Linked DNA regions of Homo sapiens: regions 1 and 2 are each linked to region 3. Evidence: promoter capture Hi-C in 16 types of primary human blood cells and fetal thymus (Javierre and others, 2016). All regions are on one chromosome and are shown on one strand. The core of a region is centred on a gene start or on the middle of the fragment in contact, and the rest is flanking DNA. Distances in the headings are between cores, read along the strand shown.

Evidence for each region. Contacts are between HindIII fragments. The CHiCAGO score rates a contact against its expected background, and 5 or more counts as called.
Region 1: a contact is called between a fragment that was not itself captured here and the fragment with the promoter of THRAP3 in region 3, in 10 of 17 cell types (naive B cells, endothelial precursors, total B cells and 7 more). The highest score is 7.5, in naive B cells.
Region 2: a fragment that was not itself captured here is called in contact with the fragment with the promoter of THRAP3 in region 3 in 1 of 17 cell types (M1 macrophages); the score reaches 5.7 in M1 macrophages.

Annotation. Positions count from the first base shown.
Region 1 is chr1:36,287,515-36,290,360 of GRCh38, forward strand. THRAP3 (thyroid hormone receptor associated protein 3) reads left to right here. Exons shown (of 12, transcript NM_005119.4): 5 at 1,546-2,250. Among named protein-coding and RNA genes, the nearest start is that of SH3D21, 17 kb to the right of the region's middle. The HindIII fragment of the contact is 1,789 bases long and covers 565-2,353 here.
Region 2 is chr1:36,118,412-36,121,111 of GRCh38, forward strand. All of the region lies in intron 1 of COL8A2 (collagen type VIII alpha 2 chain), which reads right to left. Among named protein-coding and RNA genes, the nearest start is that of COL8A2, 5.5 kb to the right of the region's middle. The HindIII fragment of the contact is 6,305 bases long and covers 1-2,700 here.
Region 3 is chr1:36,223,027-36,225,726 of GRCh38, forward strand. It overlaps THRAP3 (thyroid hormone receptor associated protein 3), which reads left to right and starts at 1,417. Exons shown (of 12, transcript NM_005119.4): 1 at 1,417-1,479. RefSeq lists enhancers at 214-383, 594-893, 807-1,334, 1,294-1,503, 1,335-1,863 and a silencer at 1,044-1,163. The HindIII fragment of the contact is 1,255 bases long and covers 1,048-2,302 here.

The sequences.
Region 1 (2,846 bases), core at 209-2,708, 65 kb after region 3:
ACATTTAAAATTTGCCTTGGATTCTACCAATGTAAGCCAAAGAACAGTAGAGATTTGTGGGTCAGCTATCAAAAAAAAGTATGGTCTTTGCCAAAATGAATGGCCATTGGAGCTCTTAGACCCTCTAGCACCCACCATCTACTATGTTCGATCTGCATCAGCCTATCATGGTGAAGAGCTGCACCCTCAATACCCTCCAGTTGAGGAGACTGGGCAGAATGGGAAAGGCCAAGGCATAGTCCAGGAAGGCCTTGTTTTAAAACCACAAGGTGGGTGTATGTCCCAGTAGAAGCCAACACGGCTGCGTGTTAGGAGAGGACATGACAGTGCTTCCGTCTTTCTCCCCTGGGGGACACGGTGAGTTGGAACATGAATCTTTGTTTGTATGGTTGGATGGATTGGGATGGCAGAGAGGTTACAGGGAAGTTGCACTGGGACCAGGTTGTGGTCAAGAGGGACTAACCCAGCAAGTGGCTCCCCCTTTTTTTTTCTTTTATCGTATTTAGCATGTTTTTTGATCCCTTGATTCTTCTTGGCTGTATTAACACGACTTTGACTTGATTAAGCTTTCTGCATTAATGGTACAGATGAGATGTTTTGAATCTGTACTTGCCTTCAGTAAGTCTGTTTTATTTTATTTATTTATTTATTTATTTCAATAGGTTTTTGGGCGAATAGGTGGTGTTTGGTTACATGGATAAGTTTGTTAATGGTGATTTCTGAGGTTTTGGTGCACCCATCACCTGAGCAGTGTACACTGTACCCAGTGTGTAGTTTTTTATCCTTGCCCCCTCCCATCCTTCTCCTTGAGTTCCCAAAGTTCATTATGTCATTCTTATGCCTTTGGGTCCTCATAGTGTAGCTCCCAAGTAAGTCTATTTTAAAACATAAGTTTTGTTCCATGCCAGGACTGTGAATCTCTTTAGAAGACTTGAGCATGAGCTCTGCTTTTCCATAAGAAAGAGAATGATGATTTTTGCTGCTGTCACCCTCTCCCCCATTAACATGTATTTTGTTTTTATTTGTGTTCACAGTATATTTCGTATTTAGATCTTCTAGGTGACTTGAAGCAAATTTGAAGTCTCTTTTTAGACTTGTATTTCCAAATGTGAGTTGTATAAAAGCAAAACAGTCCAAGGTTGAACATTCTATGTTAACTTTGCTGAAAGCAGATTTTAAGTGACTGAGTGAAGGTTGGGTAAGACCTTAAGTTATTTTTTGCCCTAGATCACATTACAGGTAAGTAGGTTTTTGTTTTTGTTTTTGAGTATCCTAAAAATAACTTTTGTTGTTCTCTTTGGTTGCTTTTGTAAGACACAACTCCATGGATCATATATTTTTCTCTTAATTGGCAAGTTCATAGAACTGTGAATGGCAGTTTTCAGAAATTATTACGAAGTAACCGCCTAGAAAGTCCTTTGGTAATACAGGAATCCATAAGACATGTTTTTTTCAGAGAATCAAAAACCAAAAACGGTAAGGCACTATTTTAGAGCATGCTGTTAAGAAGCCTCTTGTGTCTCTCTCTTGTGTTTTTATAAATAGGTATCTAGAAGAGCAGAAGACAGAGAATGGAAAAGATAAGGAACAGAAACAAACAAATACCGATAAAGAAAAAATAAAAGAGAAAGGGAGCTTCTCTGACACAGGCTTGGGTGATGGAAAAATGAAATCTGATTCTTTTGCTCCCAAAACTGATTCTGAGAAGCCTTTTCGGGGCAGTCAGTCTCCCAAAAGGTATAAGCTCCGAGATGACTTTGAGAAGAAGATGGCTGACTTCCACAAGGAGGAGATGGATGATCAAGATAAGGACAAAGCTAAGGGAAGAAAGGAATCTGAGTTTGATGATGAACCCAAATTTATGTCTAAAGTCATAGGTGCAAACAAAAACCAGGAGGAGGAGAAGTCAGGCAAATGGGAGGGCCTGGTATATGCACCTCCAGGGAAGGAAAAGCAGAGAAAAACAGAGGAGCTGGAGGAGGAGTCTTTCCCAGAGAGATCCAAAAAGGAAGATCGGGGCAAGAGAAGCGAAGGTGGGCACAGGGGCTTTGTGCCTGAGAAGAATTTCCGAGTGACTGCTTATAAAGCAGTCCAGGAGAAAAGCTCATCACCTCCCCCAAGAAAGACCTCTGAGAGCCGAGACAAGCTGGGAGCGAAAGGAGATTTTCCCACAGGAAAGTCTTCCTTTTCCATTACTCGAGAGGCACAGGTCAATGTCCGGATGGACTCTTTTGATGAGGACCTCGCACGGTGAGATATGCTCCTTCTTGATCCTCAGTGCTTTAGTGGCCTAAGTGGTGTCGCCTAGCCTTTCTCCCTGGGGACATTCTGCTGTATTCCCCCTTCTGTCTTAAGCTTCAGTGGTGATACTTTCATGTCCACCTGTGTTCACTGGAGAGTATGTGTCACAGAGTGATTGTGTGCTTTTGAAGGGGGGCAGTATCCCTGGGGTGATGAAGTATCTCTTCAGTCCTTAGTGACTGGCTCACTCTCTGTTCATCACTGCACCCCCAAGTCCAATGCTGTTTCTTGTATTTAAGATAGCTTTGCCTGTGAAGCCATCCTGGATCCACTTCTTCGTTCCTAGCTGGGTTGCCAAAGTCTATAGTACGGCCCTTCCCCATCAAATAACGTAGCAATTTTATTGTATTGTATTGTATTTTTGAGATAGTCTCTCTCTCTCTCTTCTTTTTTTTTTTGAGACGGGGTCTCCCTCTGTCACCCAGGCTGGAGTGCAGTGGCGCGATCTCCACTCACCGCAAGCTCCGCCTCCTGGGTTCACGCCATTCTCCTGCCTCAGCCTCCCGAGTAGCTGGGACCACAGGCCTCCACGCCCAGCTAATTTC
Region 2 (2,700 bases), core at 118-2,617, 100 kb before region 3:
GTGGGCAGCTACTATCAGGTGCCTCAGGAGTCCACTCCAGTGGGCCAAGGCCCCCTCTGTCTTACAAATAGGAAGCTGGGGTGAGTGGGTAAGCCAGGGCGGTGCCTGAGCCGACTTCAATGGGACTCTGTTCTTAACCTTCACCCCCAGCTGCCTTCCCTAATCCCCTCCTGGAGCCCCTCCCCTGGCGACGTCTCCCCTTTGCACAGAGCCTGCCGCTGTTGGCTAAATCCCAGACCAGATGTGGGTGGGACAGTCTGCACCCCCCGCCCCCCACCCCCAACCAGCTTCTGAGAGCTGCAGGGTTCCAGGGAGGCTGGCCAGGGCCTCAGGCCCGCTTCCCCATTCCAACTTTCCAGACTGAGGTGCTGATGGCCATGAGGTGAACAATTGGCTCCTGCCAGAGATGGGGCTCATGGGAAAATTTCCCATTTCTGAGCTCCTACTACGGGCAGGCTCTGGACTAAGAGTCTTGCTTTAAAAATCATGTCGGATTAAGAGGACCTCTCTGGAGCCCAGCTGCATGCATCCTTATCTCAGCCCTAGCTCTTACTAGCATGAGACCTCCACCTGGGCCTCAGCTTCTTCATCAATGAAATGGGAACTCCAGGCATTATTTACTCCCGTAACCCTGGAAGGCTGGAACTGCTGTCCCATTTTACTGAGGAAGAGTGCTAGGTCCCAGAGAGGTCACATCCATTCTCCAAGGTAACCAGGCTAGGAAGTGAAAGGGGTGGAATCTGAATCCAGCTCTGCCCAGCCCATATAAAGCTGCCCAGCTCAGCTTCACAGAGCATTTGTGAGGATTAAACAAGTTAATTTTGTGTAACGGACTCAGAGCAGTGCTTGGCATATAGGAATCCTAAATAAATATGCCCTATTATAAATATAATCACTGGCCTGGCACAGTGGTGAACCCAAGTTCACCATTTGCCCAAGTTCCCCCAGCCAGGGAAGGATGGTCCCAGAGCTTGGCCCCAAGCTAAGCAAGTCCAAAGATGAGGACAACCTTCTGGCTCCCCCAAGCTGAGGCATGGTGTGTACTGGGGTGAAGGTCAGTCCCCCGCACCCCCTCAGTCCCTCCTGCCTGACCCCCAGGGGTTCCAACCCCAATCCAGCCCCTGCTGCCGCTGCAGGAGGGGGCTCTGCATTCCTGGCTAAGCAGCTGGATTTGCTGTGCTCCAGGAACTATGAAAAGAATGCTTGCCATGAGCAGAGCCGTGGTCGCCTGTCAGGGAGCGTGGCCTGGAGTGCCCACGCAGAGCTTGGTGGCAGCCAGCACAGTGGGAAGGAAGGAGGCTAGCCAGAAAGGAGAACTTCCGGGTGGTGGGGGCTGTGGACACTGGACGGGTGTGGAGACCAAAGAGTTGGCCACCTGGGATCTTTCAGGAGATAACTGACCCCTCTACCCCGCAATCTAGGTTTCTCCTCACCACAGGTTGTAAGGAGAGGCAGGCTGGCACTGCTGGCCCAGCTCATGGATGGGGTTACACAGACTCAGAGGAAAACTCTCCTGAGGTCACACAGCAGCCAGTGGCAGAATTGAGACCAGAGGCCAGGACCCCCAGCTCAGGCCCCGCCTCTTCACAGAGGCTTCCCTCCCTTGCAGGACCCACCAGGGACCACCAAGGGTTCCTAGATAATAGAAAATACCATCCCAGCCCTCACGGTTCTGGGCTCTCTCTGGGTCTGACCTTCTCATGCCTGCTATTCCTCTTTCCCCCTCCACAAAAAACCCCTTGTGCTATGAAGATGCCCCACACACTGTAGACGTACGACAATTGAGATTCCATTCCTTTTGGGAGGCTCAGGCGGGCGGATCACTTGAGGTCAGGAGTTCAAGAACAGCCTGACCAACATGGCGAAACCCCGTCTCTACTAAAAATACAAAAATTAGCAGAAGTGATGGTACACATCTGTAATCCCAGCTACTAGGGAGGCTGAAGCAGGAGAATTGCTCAAACCCAGGAGGTGGAGGTTGCAGTGAGCCAAGATTGCACCACTGCACTCCAGCCTGGGTGACAGAGACTCCATCTCAAAAAAATAAATAAAAAGAGGACGGGCACAATGGCTCACGCCTGTAACCCCAGCACTTTGGGAGGCCGAGGCGGGCAGATCACAAGGTCAGGAGTTCGAGAACAGCCTGACCAACGTGGTGAAACCCCATCTCTACTAAAAATATAAAAATTAGCCAGGCTTGGCAGCGTGTGCCTGTAATCCCAGCTACTCAGGAGGCTGAGGCAAGAGAATCACTTGAACCCGGGAGGCAGAGGATGCAGTGAGCCGAGATCATGCCATTGCACCCCAGCCTGGGCGACAGAGCGAGACTCCGTCTCAAAAAAAAAAAAAAAAATAGAGAGAGAGAGAGGAAGGAAGGAAGGAAGGAAGGAAGAAAGGCCAGGCATGGTGGCTAACACCTATAATCCCAGCACTTTGGAAGGCCAAGGTGGGTGGCTCACTTGAAGTCAGGAGTTCAAGACCAGCCTGGCCAACATGGTGAAACCTTGTCTCTACTAAAAATACAAAAATTAGCCGGGCCTGGTGGTGCACACCTGTAATCCCAGCTACTCAGGAGGGTGAGGCAGGAGAATCGCTTGAATCCAGGAGGTGGAGGTTGCAGTGAGCCAAGATCGCGCCACTGCACTCCAGCCTGGGCGACAGAGTGAGACTCCGTCTTAATAAAAAAAAAAAAGACCAGGC
Region 3 (2,700 bases), core at 167-2,666:
TTAGGCAGGAGAATCGCTTGAACCTGGGAGGCAGATGTTGCAGTGACCCAAAATCGCACCACTGCCCTCCAGCCTGGGCGACATAGGGAGAATCTCAATAAATAAATAAATAAATAAATAAAAATAAAATCAATTAAATTAGAACGTTTTAAGAAGCACTGCGCAGTACGTCGACCACAAGAAGTGCTCAAAGAAGGAAGAAAGAGTAAGCCGTGTGCAAGGAATGCTGCCGAAGCCACTAAGGGCAAGGGCTGATGTGGCGTGGTCTGCTACTTGAGTTGAGCCTTGCAGCTTTTCTCTTAGGAAGAGCATTAGATTTCTTTATTAATTGATGTGTACTGTGTCTACTTTTCTCTGGAGGTGCAGAAATCCATCAAAACTGATCTCGGCTCTCAAAGAGCTCACAGTCTTGTCGGGGAAGGCCCCGATACTTACAGAGTAAGATGCAAACTTACTGTGGGAACACAGGCATAGGGAGGAGCTAGTCAACTTTGAAAGCATCACAGATGACCTATGAGATGGGTCTTAAATGTTCAGAGACACTAGAGCAGAAATTCCGGAGGAAACCAGCCTGTGCAAAACTGATAAACGCAGAGATTCTCAAATTTGTAGGTGGGTAAGAATCACCCGAGAGATCGGTTTAAAATGTAGACTGCAGGGAGACACTCCCCGGTAAACTTTTGGTTCAATACCCCAGTAGCACCCATTTTAACAAACTTCCCAGGACGACAGTCAGAAAATCATAGTTACAGAAGGCAGGCTGGGGAGAGGCGGTTTCTGGGTCTCCGAATGAGGTCACACAATTAAAATTAAAAAAACGAAACCAAACCAACCCCTCCATTTGCGTTGCGCTTTCAGGGTGCTTGAGGCTTTCCTGTGCCTTACTTTGTCGGAGCCTGGCAACATCGCTGTGGGGTAGAAATTACAAGTCTCATTTCACAGGGGAGGAAACAAGTTTAGAGAGGAGGGATGAATTTGCTCAAGGTCACAAAGCGGAAGGGAGCGCAGCAGAGACCAAAAACAGGGAGACTCGACTTCCAACTCGGAAGCTTTTCAACAAGGCAAGCTGGCCCGGAGTGGGTGGGGCTCAGACTCTCCCTCCAGGCTGGTTCCAAAATGGTGGGGGCAGTGGCGTCAGCAACGCCCCCGCCCCTTCCGTCCACCGCCCTCCTCCATCTCCAGGCCACCCAGGCGGGGGGAGGGGACGGCCCCGAGCAACCCACGTGACCGCCGACAACCGAGCGCGTGACGCAAAGCGGCGGGCCCAACGCTCGCCTTGTCTTTTGGGAAACGTAGTTCTGATGGCAGCCAAGTCGGCCAGGAGAGGAGGGCGTAGGACTACATTTCCCAGGAGGCAGCGGGTCTACGCCGTCGCCGTCGTCGGAGAGCGGAGACGCTGGGCGCGCTGTGGGGCGGGGGCGAGGTTCGGGCTGGTTGTTCCGTTGCGAGCTGCAGCTGCGATCTCTGTGGTAGGCCCAGGTGAGTGAGCGCCTCTGATGGAAGTTAGGGCAGCTTAACCGGCTCTAGTGGTTTCGTCTCTTATCTTTTTTCCCCAGCTGCTGGTCAGGGGCTCGGGGAAGGCCTGGCGTGGAGTCGCTCCCCCCAGCTTACACCCTGGCCTCTTCTGAGCGGGCTCCGTTCCCTCCGGCTCCTCCCCTTCCCCGCCCTTTAGGTCTTCCCCTGGCCCCGGCCTAGCTCCCAAGGCTCTTGGTCGCCTTCTCTGCAGAGCAGCTCCTACGCCGCTTTATCTTGCAGTCGGCCTGGGGGCGGCCACTCCCTACTCCTCCCGTTTTGGTCGTATGAACCCCGTTATTTGGATTTCTTTTCCCGGAACTCCCGAGTGCCCTTCCCCCCACCCAGTCCCCATTGGCCTGGTTCGGTCTTCTCCTAGGGCGCATGTGGCTGCCACTCAGTAAATGTTAGTACCGCTTCCGTTCTTTCCAGCCTGGTGGCCAAAAACGGGATAGTCCAAATTTGTCTCCTACGGGAATATTAGAGTTCTCACTTTTTTCTTGGGCTGGAGCTGAGGCCGGCTTGCATTCCAGTGGCAATCGGCGTGAGTTCTGCTTATATGAGGTGAATTATTTTGCTTCTCTTAGCACCTAAGCAACTTTTATCAACTGTTGTCTTTGACTTTACAAATCTTAGGGGTGGAGCATGGCAGCAGAAGCTGGGGAGCAGCAATGGTGCACAGAAGTTGGAAGCCATCAGTGGCAGTACAGTGTTTATGGGGAATTTGTTACTTGGGGTGAAGGGAAAGCCTCTGAGAGTATAGAAGGACCTGGCAAGAGAGAGGCAGTGAAGCTTCTGTTGGGAGCATAACAGAAGTATCCTGAACCAGTTGGCTTGGGTTTAAATCTTGGCCCTGCTATCTTTTGATCTTAGGTCAAGAGTCTTCATCTCCAGCTGCCTCAGTTTTCTTATCACTAAAACAGCAGTAAGTAACAGTGACCCCTTTACAGGGTTATTGTGGAGACTAAATGAGATAAAATAAAAATCACTTAGCCACTGTTAAAAAGTAATATCATCATTTATAGGTTTTTTTTTTAGAGTGTGCGCCGAGAGAGATGAGGCGTGTATCACACCGTTATTTTTCTTCTGTTTCAGATGACCCTGACTTTTTTCGTTTGTGGAAGTACTGTTGTAGTCTGTTCTGTAATTCTAGACAGTCTGACGTGTGTATTATGATTTAGAAGCTTG